2 separate regions of the Homo sapiens genome follow, and region 2 is linked to region 1. Evidence: promoter capture Hi-C in 16 types of primary human blood cells and fetal thymus (Javierre and others, 2016). All regions are on one chromosome and are shown on one strand. The core of a region is centred on a gene start or on the middle of the fragment in contact, and the rest is flanking DNA. Distances in the headings are between cores, read along the strand shown. Region 1 holds the start of ILF2 (interleukin enhancer binding factor 2). Region 2 overlaps SLC27A3 (solute carrier family 27 member 3).

Region 1 (3,849 bases), core at 770-3,269:
GTGGGCAGATCACTTGAGGTCAGGAGTTCAAGATCAGCCTGGGCAACATGGTGAAACCCCGTCTCTACTAAACAGACATACAAAAATTAGCTGGGCATGGTGGCAGGTGCCTGTAATCCCAACTACTCAGGAGGCTGAGGCAGGAGAATCGTTTGAACCCTGGAGGCAGAGGTCCTGATTCCTCTGCCTCCCAGGTTCAGTGCAGTGAGCCAAGATTGCACCACTGCACTCCAGCCTGGGTGACAGAGTGAGACTGTCTCAAAAAAAATAAAAAGTTCAAACAAGGATAAAAGCTGGAATAGCCATAATTTAAGCTATCACTATCTTTATAGTAACAGATATACCATAAATACAATTACTTGTTCAGAACAAAGATTATAATCATGTTTAATGCCAACAGTAGCCAAGGAATTATTCTCCCCACCATGCTTACACTGTTTCTGTATGTAAAGCAACACACAGTTGACTCAAAACCCCAAATCTTTTCACAAATCACTTTCCCTCCCTATTTCAACCATCTTTTTTTTTTTGTAGTGGTGCCATCTTGGTTCACTGCAACCTCCGCGTCCCGGGTTCAAGCAATTCTCCTGCTTCAGCCTCCCAAGTAGCTGGGATTAGACACATGCCCAGCCAACTTTTTTATTTTTAGTAGAGACGGGGTTTCACCATATTGGCCAGGCTAGTCTCAAACTCCTGACCTTCAGGTAATCCATCTGCCTCGGCCTCCCAAAGTGCTGAGATTACAGGCGTGAGGCACTGTGTCTGCCCTCTTCAACCACCATCTAACTTCATTAACTGGGAGATACTGGGCTCCATTTCAACAGTGACCAGAAAATGTGTATCATTAACCCAAGGTACTCACCAAATAGAAGTCAAATGGGATATGTGGTACAAAGGGCCTGAACCTAAAACATGAAAAACAGCCAAATTATTCCCTAGGTAGGAATCAAGCGAGATGTAAATAACACGCCAACAATTTTGAAAACATGTCAGTCCTCAGAATGAGTGACAAAGTCTCCGGGGAGGGAAAGAATCATTCTTAGCATAGTGGGGCCAAATTCATTTAACAGGAGTGCAGGAAAAGACCACAGTTGGCTCTCGCAAAACCAAGTGACATTAGTCTACTCTAAAACTCCTATTTAGATGACAAGCAGAAACTAACAACCAAGTGCAGAGATGCTAAAAGCTGGTACTCACCCTCCTCCTGGGCCTCCTCTGGAACCAAAGCGCCCACCACGACCACGGCCTCTGTCACCCCTAGAAATGCAGATTTTATTTTGACCTCATTGAAGGAATACCCACCGGCCATATCATCTTAGGTTGGCTACTTTCATCCCTCGGAACCTCCCAACGGTAGGCAAGAGACCCCACTCACACTTACACTTGTCCCCATTCCAAATGGTGCCCAGTTACACCCCCATAACCTCCTCTAAGTTAATCCAACCCCCATCAAGTAATGATGGGGCTCAGTGAGCCCTACACTTAATAACCCATAATCCTGGGCCACACGAATCCTAATACTTCGGAGGCTAAAGATTGCTCATTTCTTCACTAAGGTACACATTTATCGGGCGTGTCCTAATGTCAAGGCCTTCGCACTGAGGATGAATGCGGCTCGCTCCAGCATTCTCAGCCCGGATGACGGGGGCGGGGGAAAGGTGGGGAGCTCCTCCAGGGGCTTGAGGACACCCCCTCATCGCAACCCTTCAGAGACAAAGGTGTCGAACCCCCCTCCCCACTCCTGGGCCCGAACCCCATCCCGGGCCCAAGTTTCCCCGCCTCTACCGGCCTCCATCTCTCCCACTATCCTAGACCAGGAGTTCTCAGGTTTTTGGCCAGCCCCCGGATACATGGCCCTTTCTGATACTCCGACTTCTTTCGGCCCACGTTCACAAAGTTTTCCGTCGAATACCTGAAACCTTTCGACCGCTTCGACCCACTTACCTCATGGCGCCTTAAAACACGAACAATGGAGGCCGCACCAACCGCCCCTTCCTCTGAGTAGCAGACAACTGAAGAGGCGTCTTGCCGGCGTGTCCCAATAAAACCCGGTGCGATTGGCTCCCGCCTTACCCCATCGCTTATGCCTATTGGCTTACTTTGTCAAACCGGGCTTATGAACCAATAAAAAACGCCTACTGTGTCAGGAACTAGCCAATAAGAACTGGTTCTATAGTAATGACGAATTTTTGATCAGACATTAGGTGGCACTAAAGAAGTCAGGACAACGACTACGTAGTGTTCTATAACAATCATGAGAAATTTTAGTTCTAGATAGCAGAGTGGCGCAGCGGAAGCGTGCTGGGCCCATAACCCAGAGGTCGATGGATCGAAACCATCCTCTGCTATCGGAGTTTTTTCATTGCCCTGTACGGCATACGTAATCTACGTTTCTTTAGTGAAGGAAAATATCTTGCCAATTTTCCTACCTCAAAAATGCAACCAATATCAGCTATTTTTGCCACTAGCAGTTGAAGTTGATGGGGAAAAGGGAGTTTAGGCAACTATGAACACTGCACGTCTACAAACTCGAAGCAGGAGAAACAGGTTTTAGATAGGAGAGGAGTATATTGATTGAATTAGTGTGGAAAACATGGTTTTCCATGTCCATGGAAACAGGTGATCCACCCGCCTCAGCTTCCGAAAGTGCTGGGATTACCGGCGTGAGCCACAGCGCCCAGCTTGGTTACATAAATTCTTTAGTGGTGATTTGTGAGATTTTGGTGCACTCATCACCCGAGCAGTATACACTGAACCCAACTTGTAGACTTTTATCCCTCACCTACCTCCCTTCCATAAGTACTTTTTCGATATTTAATTTACTACAGCAGAACGTAAACATCTTAAGTCTAAACGTATTCTGGCCACGTAACCACCATCCAGATTAAAATAAATATTATTAATTTTTAAAAAACAAGCAAACAAAAAGCGGACCGAGTGCGGTGGCTTGTGGCCACCCAGCACTGTGGGAGGCCGAGACGGGTGGATCACCCGAGGTCAGGAGTTCGAGATCAGCCTGGCCAACATGGTGAAACTCCGTCTCTACTAAAAATACAAAAATTAGCCGGCGTGCTGGCGGGCGCCTGTAATTCCAGTTACTCAGGAGGCTGAGGCAGGAGAATCTCTTGAATCCGGGAGGCGGAGGTTGCAGTGAGCTGAGATGGCGCCACTGCACCCCAGCCTGGGCGATAGAGGGAGACTCCGTTTAAAAAAAAAAAAATCTTACTTGAGGTTTGTTGAGCTTCTTGAATCAATGGCTTCAGGTTTGTCGTCCATTTATTAAATTTATCAGCTATTATCTCTTCAAGTATTAGTTTTACCTATTATTTCCCTCGTTCCTGAACTCCAAATAAAGACGGGTTAGACTTTTCCCCCAGTAATCTCTTTGTCTCTTACCCTCTCTTCTATTATTTCATTTTATTTAGACACAGGGTCTCACTCTGTTGCCCAGGCTGGAGTGCAGTGGTGCACCATCATAGCTCACTGCAGCCTCAACCTCCTGGCCTCAAGAGACTCTCCCATTTCGGCCTCCCTAGTAGTTGGGACTACTCAAAGGCACAGGCCACACCACTCCGAGCTAATTTTATTTTTTTTTTTGAGATGGAGTCTCCCAGGCTGCAGTGCAGTGGCGCTATTTCAGCTCACTGCAACCTCCGCCTCCCCGGTTCAAGCGATTCTCCTGCCTCAGCCTCCCGAGTAGCTGGGACTACAGGCGCCCGCCACCACGCCCAGCTAATTTTTTTTTTTTTGTATTTTTAGTAGAGACGGGGTTTCGCGGTGTTAGCGAGGATGGTCACCATCTCTTGATCTAGTGATCTGCCCGCCTCGGCCTCCCAAAGTGCTGGGATT
Region 2 (3,727 bases), core at 591-3,090, 110 kb after region 1:
GTAGGAGGGGGTTCTGGGGAATGGGGAACAGGAATTCACTTCCGGGAGCGGGCATCTTGATGCTGAAGCTCCGGCCCCTCTCCCACTCATCTCAGAGCAAGGCAGAACGTGGCCATAAGGTCCGGCTGGCAGTGGGCAGCGGGCTGCGCCCAGATACCTGGGAGCGTTTTGTGCGGCGCTTCGGGCCCCTGCAGGTGCTGGAGACATATGGACTGACAGAGGGCAACGTGGCCACCATCAACTACACAGGACAGCGGGGCGCTGTGGGGCGTGCTTCCTGGCTTTACAAGGTGAGGGGCAGAGAGGAAACTGAAAACCCGTGGAACAGCAGAGGGCTGGCAGGAGAGGGGGCTCATGTGACTGCAATGATCCAGTACCCAGGTCTCCCTTTCCCCAGCATATCTTCCCCTTCTCCTTGATTCGCTATGATGTCACCACAGGAGAGCCAATTCGGGACCCCCAGGGGCACTGTATGGCCACATCTCCAGGTTGGTGGTGTTCTGGTGGGGTGGGCGGGGTGCTGAAGCTGGCACAGGAGGACTGGAATTGGAGACTGGGGTGGATGGGGGCAGAAGGCTCTGGGAAAGGTGACACCACTCCTGACCCTGGTGACTCTGCCAGGTGAGCCAGGGCTGCTGGTGGCCCCGGTAAGCCAGCAGTCCCCATTCCTGGGCTATGCTGGCGGGCCAGAGCTGGCCCAGGGGAAGTTGCTAAAGGATGTCTTCCGGCCTGGGGATGTTTTCTTCAACACTGGGGACCTGCTGGTCTGCGATGACCAAGGTTTTCTCCGCTTCCATGATCGTACTGGAGACACCTTCAGGTATCTGTCCATAACTGGTTTTTCATCCTGGACATCTGATCTCTGTGATCCAAAGCTTCTGAACCTCAACTCTCTAATCTGCCACCTCAACCTGGGTCCTAAGCTAATCTCTCATTCTCAGATCTCACCATTTCATCCCTGTGACACTGACCTCTGACCTCATCTCCCCACCAAGCCCATAAGGCCCTGACCCCTGACTCCCAGTTTCAGATCTCTGCTCTCTGACAGGTGGAAGGGGGAGAATGTGGCCACAACCGAGGTGGCAGAGGTCTTCGAGGCCCTAGATTTTCTTCAGGAGGTGAACGTCTATGGAGTCACTGTGCCAGGTGCCTAGGCATGGAAGGTGGGGGAGGCACCCAGCCACCACCCCGAATTGGTAGTACTTGGGCGCAGGGAGCACGAGGCCTTCGTGGTGGTCAGCCATGGAGGGGCTTACTCTGTCTCCCACACCCACCAGGGCATGAAGGCAGGGCTGGAATGGCAGCCCTAGTTCTGCGTCCCCCCCACGCTTTGGACCTTATGCAGCTCTACACCCACGTGTCTGAGAACTTGCCACCTTATGCCCGGCCCCGATTCCTCAGGCTCCAGGTAACCGGCCACTTCCCCCGCCGGCCCCTCACCCCATATATCCTCACCCCACATATCCACCCCGTGTATCAACTTAGGAGTTTGATGGCTCCCAAACTCCACAAAGGGACCCCCAACGTAATACACTCCGTGAAGAGAAAAAACACGGAGACACAAGCTCTTCACCCCACTTCTTTCCTTATCCCTGCCTTCTTCTGGCCTGGCTCTTTCTCCTCCCTGTCACCTCCTCCCCTAAACCTTGACCTCACACTCCCTTTCCCAAGACTTGCTCCTTAACAAAATTCAGGCAACTCCCCTGAACCACGTGGGCAGAGTCCCCTTCCCTCCAAATCCCTGACCCTCCTGTCCCCAGGAGTCTTTGGCCACCACAGAGACCTTCAAACAGCAGAAAGTTCGGATGGCAAATGAGGGCTTCGACCCCAGCACCCTGTCTGACCCACTGTACGTTCTGGACCAGGCTGTAGGTGCCTACCTGCCCCTCACAACTGCCCGGTACAGCGCCCTCCTGGCAGGAAACCTTCGAATCTGAGAACTTCCACACCTGAGGCACCTGAGAGAGGAACTCTGTGGGGTGGGGGCCGTTGCAGGTGTACTGGGCTGTCAGGGATCTTTTCTATACCAGAACTGCGGTCACTATTTTGTAATAAATGTGGCTGGAGCTGATCCAGCTGTCTCTGACCTACAGTATCTGTCATTATCTCTCTGTGGAACTGCTTTTTCCTTGAGAGTTTTCTCCTGGCGTGGAGCCACAGGCCCCACATTCCTGCCCTGACTGGCTGTGGGCCAGAGCCCCGTATCTGGACCTTGGTGTTTTCCTCTCAGGAGACCCTGTGTGACCTTCGTCCTTGGAGAACCTCTGGTGACTGATGTTTGTCTGTGCTCCTGTGTAGCTCGCCCCAGTTTTACTCTCCGAGTGCCAGGCTCCCACTGCTCTGTCTTGGGAACTGGAGGACCCGAGGGGTCGGCTCAAAGGGCAGAGGTGGACAGAAGCACACAGAAATGCCACCTCCGGCAGCCAGCCCAAACTGCTCCCCCAGAATCAGGTGTGGCCGGGCCTGGGGAAGAGTCTTAACCAGCCCAAACAAGTGTTTGACTGTGGGGGAAAGGATGCTCAAGATATCCCTCTGCCTCGCAGCTGTCTCTGAGAAGCCAATCTTTGAGGGGGAAGAGTGGGGTGCCCCTGCCTCCAGATGTTCCTACTCCTACCTGGTGACTGTCAGACATTCCCAGAAGGAGCAGTCCCCAGGGGGGACCCTCCGGTACTGCAGGAGAGTTTGACGGAAGCCCCTCCATGGAGTGAGGCTCAGAGTGCATGTGGTGGCAGGAGGGATGGTGGGAATCAAAAGGACAAAGGCCTCTCGATCCCCAAATGAGGTGTCCAGAAAGTTCATCATCTAAAAGCTTGAAATGATGAAGCTCCTGCTTCTCCTAGGAACTACAGTCCCCCTCTGTTTTGAGCTGTGGGTCCTTGAAATTTTATGCTACTTTGCCTTTCCCCTTCTAGCCCCTCTCCCCAACATGAGAGGTCAGGGGACATGCCCTACTGGCACACTTGGGTCTCTATTGCGGGCCCTCCTGTTCCAAAACTTTACAACTTGCCCCCTTCCACCAGCAAGCCCGGTGCAGCCTCACTGACAGACTAGGTAAGGCACACGCTAAGGTGCAGGGGAAAACTTCATGCGTAGACCAATAAATGTGGAACTTAACTCATTCTGTGCACCTCTCCAATCTGCCCCAGGAGGAGTACAATAGTTTGGGTGTGCCTGGGGGTAGGGCGGGTAGGCAGCCTGTGTTGGCTGGCAGTGGGGCACCTCCTGCAGCTGCTCTCCCACACCTTAACTCAGCCCAGATTTCCCAGACCTGCGAGCTGAGTGGCCACCTCCCCCATCGTAGAACCTCACACCAAGCTTTTTTTTTTTCTGGAGACGGAGTCTCGCCCTGTAGCCCAGGCTGGAGTGCAATGGTGCAATCTCGGCTCACTGCAACCTCTACCTCCCAGGTTCAAGCAATTCTCCTGCCTCAGCCTCCCGAGTAGCTGGGATTGCAGGCACACGCCACCACATCCGGCTAATTTTTTTTTCTATCTTTAGTAGAGACCGGGTTTCACCATGTTGGCCAGGCTGGTCTCGAACTCCTGACCTCGTGATCTGCCCGCCTCAGCCTCTCAAAGTACTGGGATTACAGGTGCCCGGCCTATTTTTGCTTTTTAAAGTGTAGCTACTAGAATATTTAGAATTACATGTGGCTCAGGTTATATTTCTTTTTTTTTTTTTTTTTTTTTTTTTTTTGGAGATGGAGTCTCGCTGTGTCGCCCAGGCT

The links. Contacts are between HindIII fragments. The CHiCAGO score rates a contact against its expected background, and 5 or more counts as called.
Region 2: a contact is called between a fragment that was not itself captured here and the fragment with the promoter of ILF2 in region 1, in 10 of 17 cell types (endothelial precursors, M0 macrophages, M2 macrophages and 7 more). The highest score is 9.8, in endothelial precursors.

What each region holds. Positions count from the first base shown.
Region 1 is chr1:153,668,974-153,672,822 of GRCh38, forward strand. ILF2 (interleukin enhancer binding factor 2) reads right to left here and starts at 2,020. Exons shown (of 14, transcript NM_004515.4): 1 at 1,945-2,020; 2 at 1,198-1,257; 3 at 863-905. The coding sequence starts at 1,949. It overlaps TRX-CAT1-1 (tRNA-iMet (anticodon CAT) 1-1), which reads left to right and starts at 2,277; the gene lies at 2,277-2,348. RefSeq lists a silencer at 2,040-2,419 and enhancers at 2,460-2,599, 3,150-3,229, 3,240-3,289. The HindIII fragment of the contact is 12,664 bases long and covers 1-3,849 here.
Region 2 is chr1:153,778,066-153,781,792 of GRCh38, forward strand. It overlaps SLC27A3 (solute carrier family 27 member 3), which reads left to right. Exons shown (of 10, transcript NM_024330.4): 5 at 96-290; 6 at 398-488; 7 at 622-820; 8 at 1,049-1,146; 9 at 1,278-1,408; 10 at 1,761-2,092. The coding sequence ends at 1,937. Among named protein-coding and RNA genes, the nearest start is that of SLC27A3, 4.5 kb to the left of the region's middle. The HindIII fragment of the contact is 1,934 bases long and covers 874-2,807 here.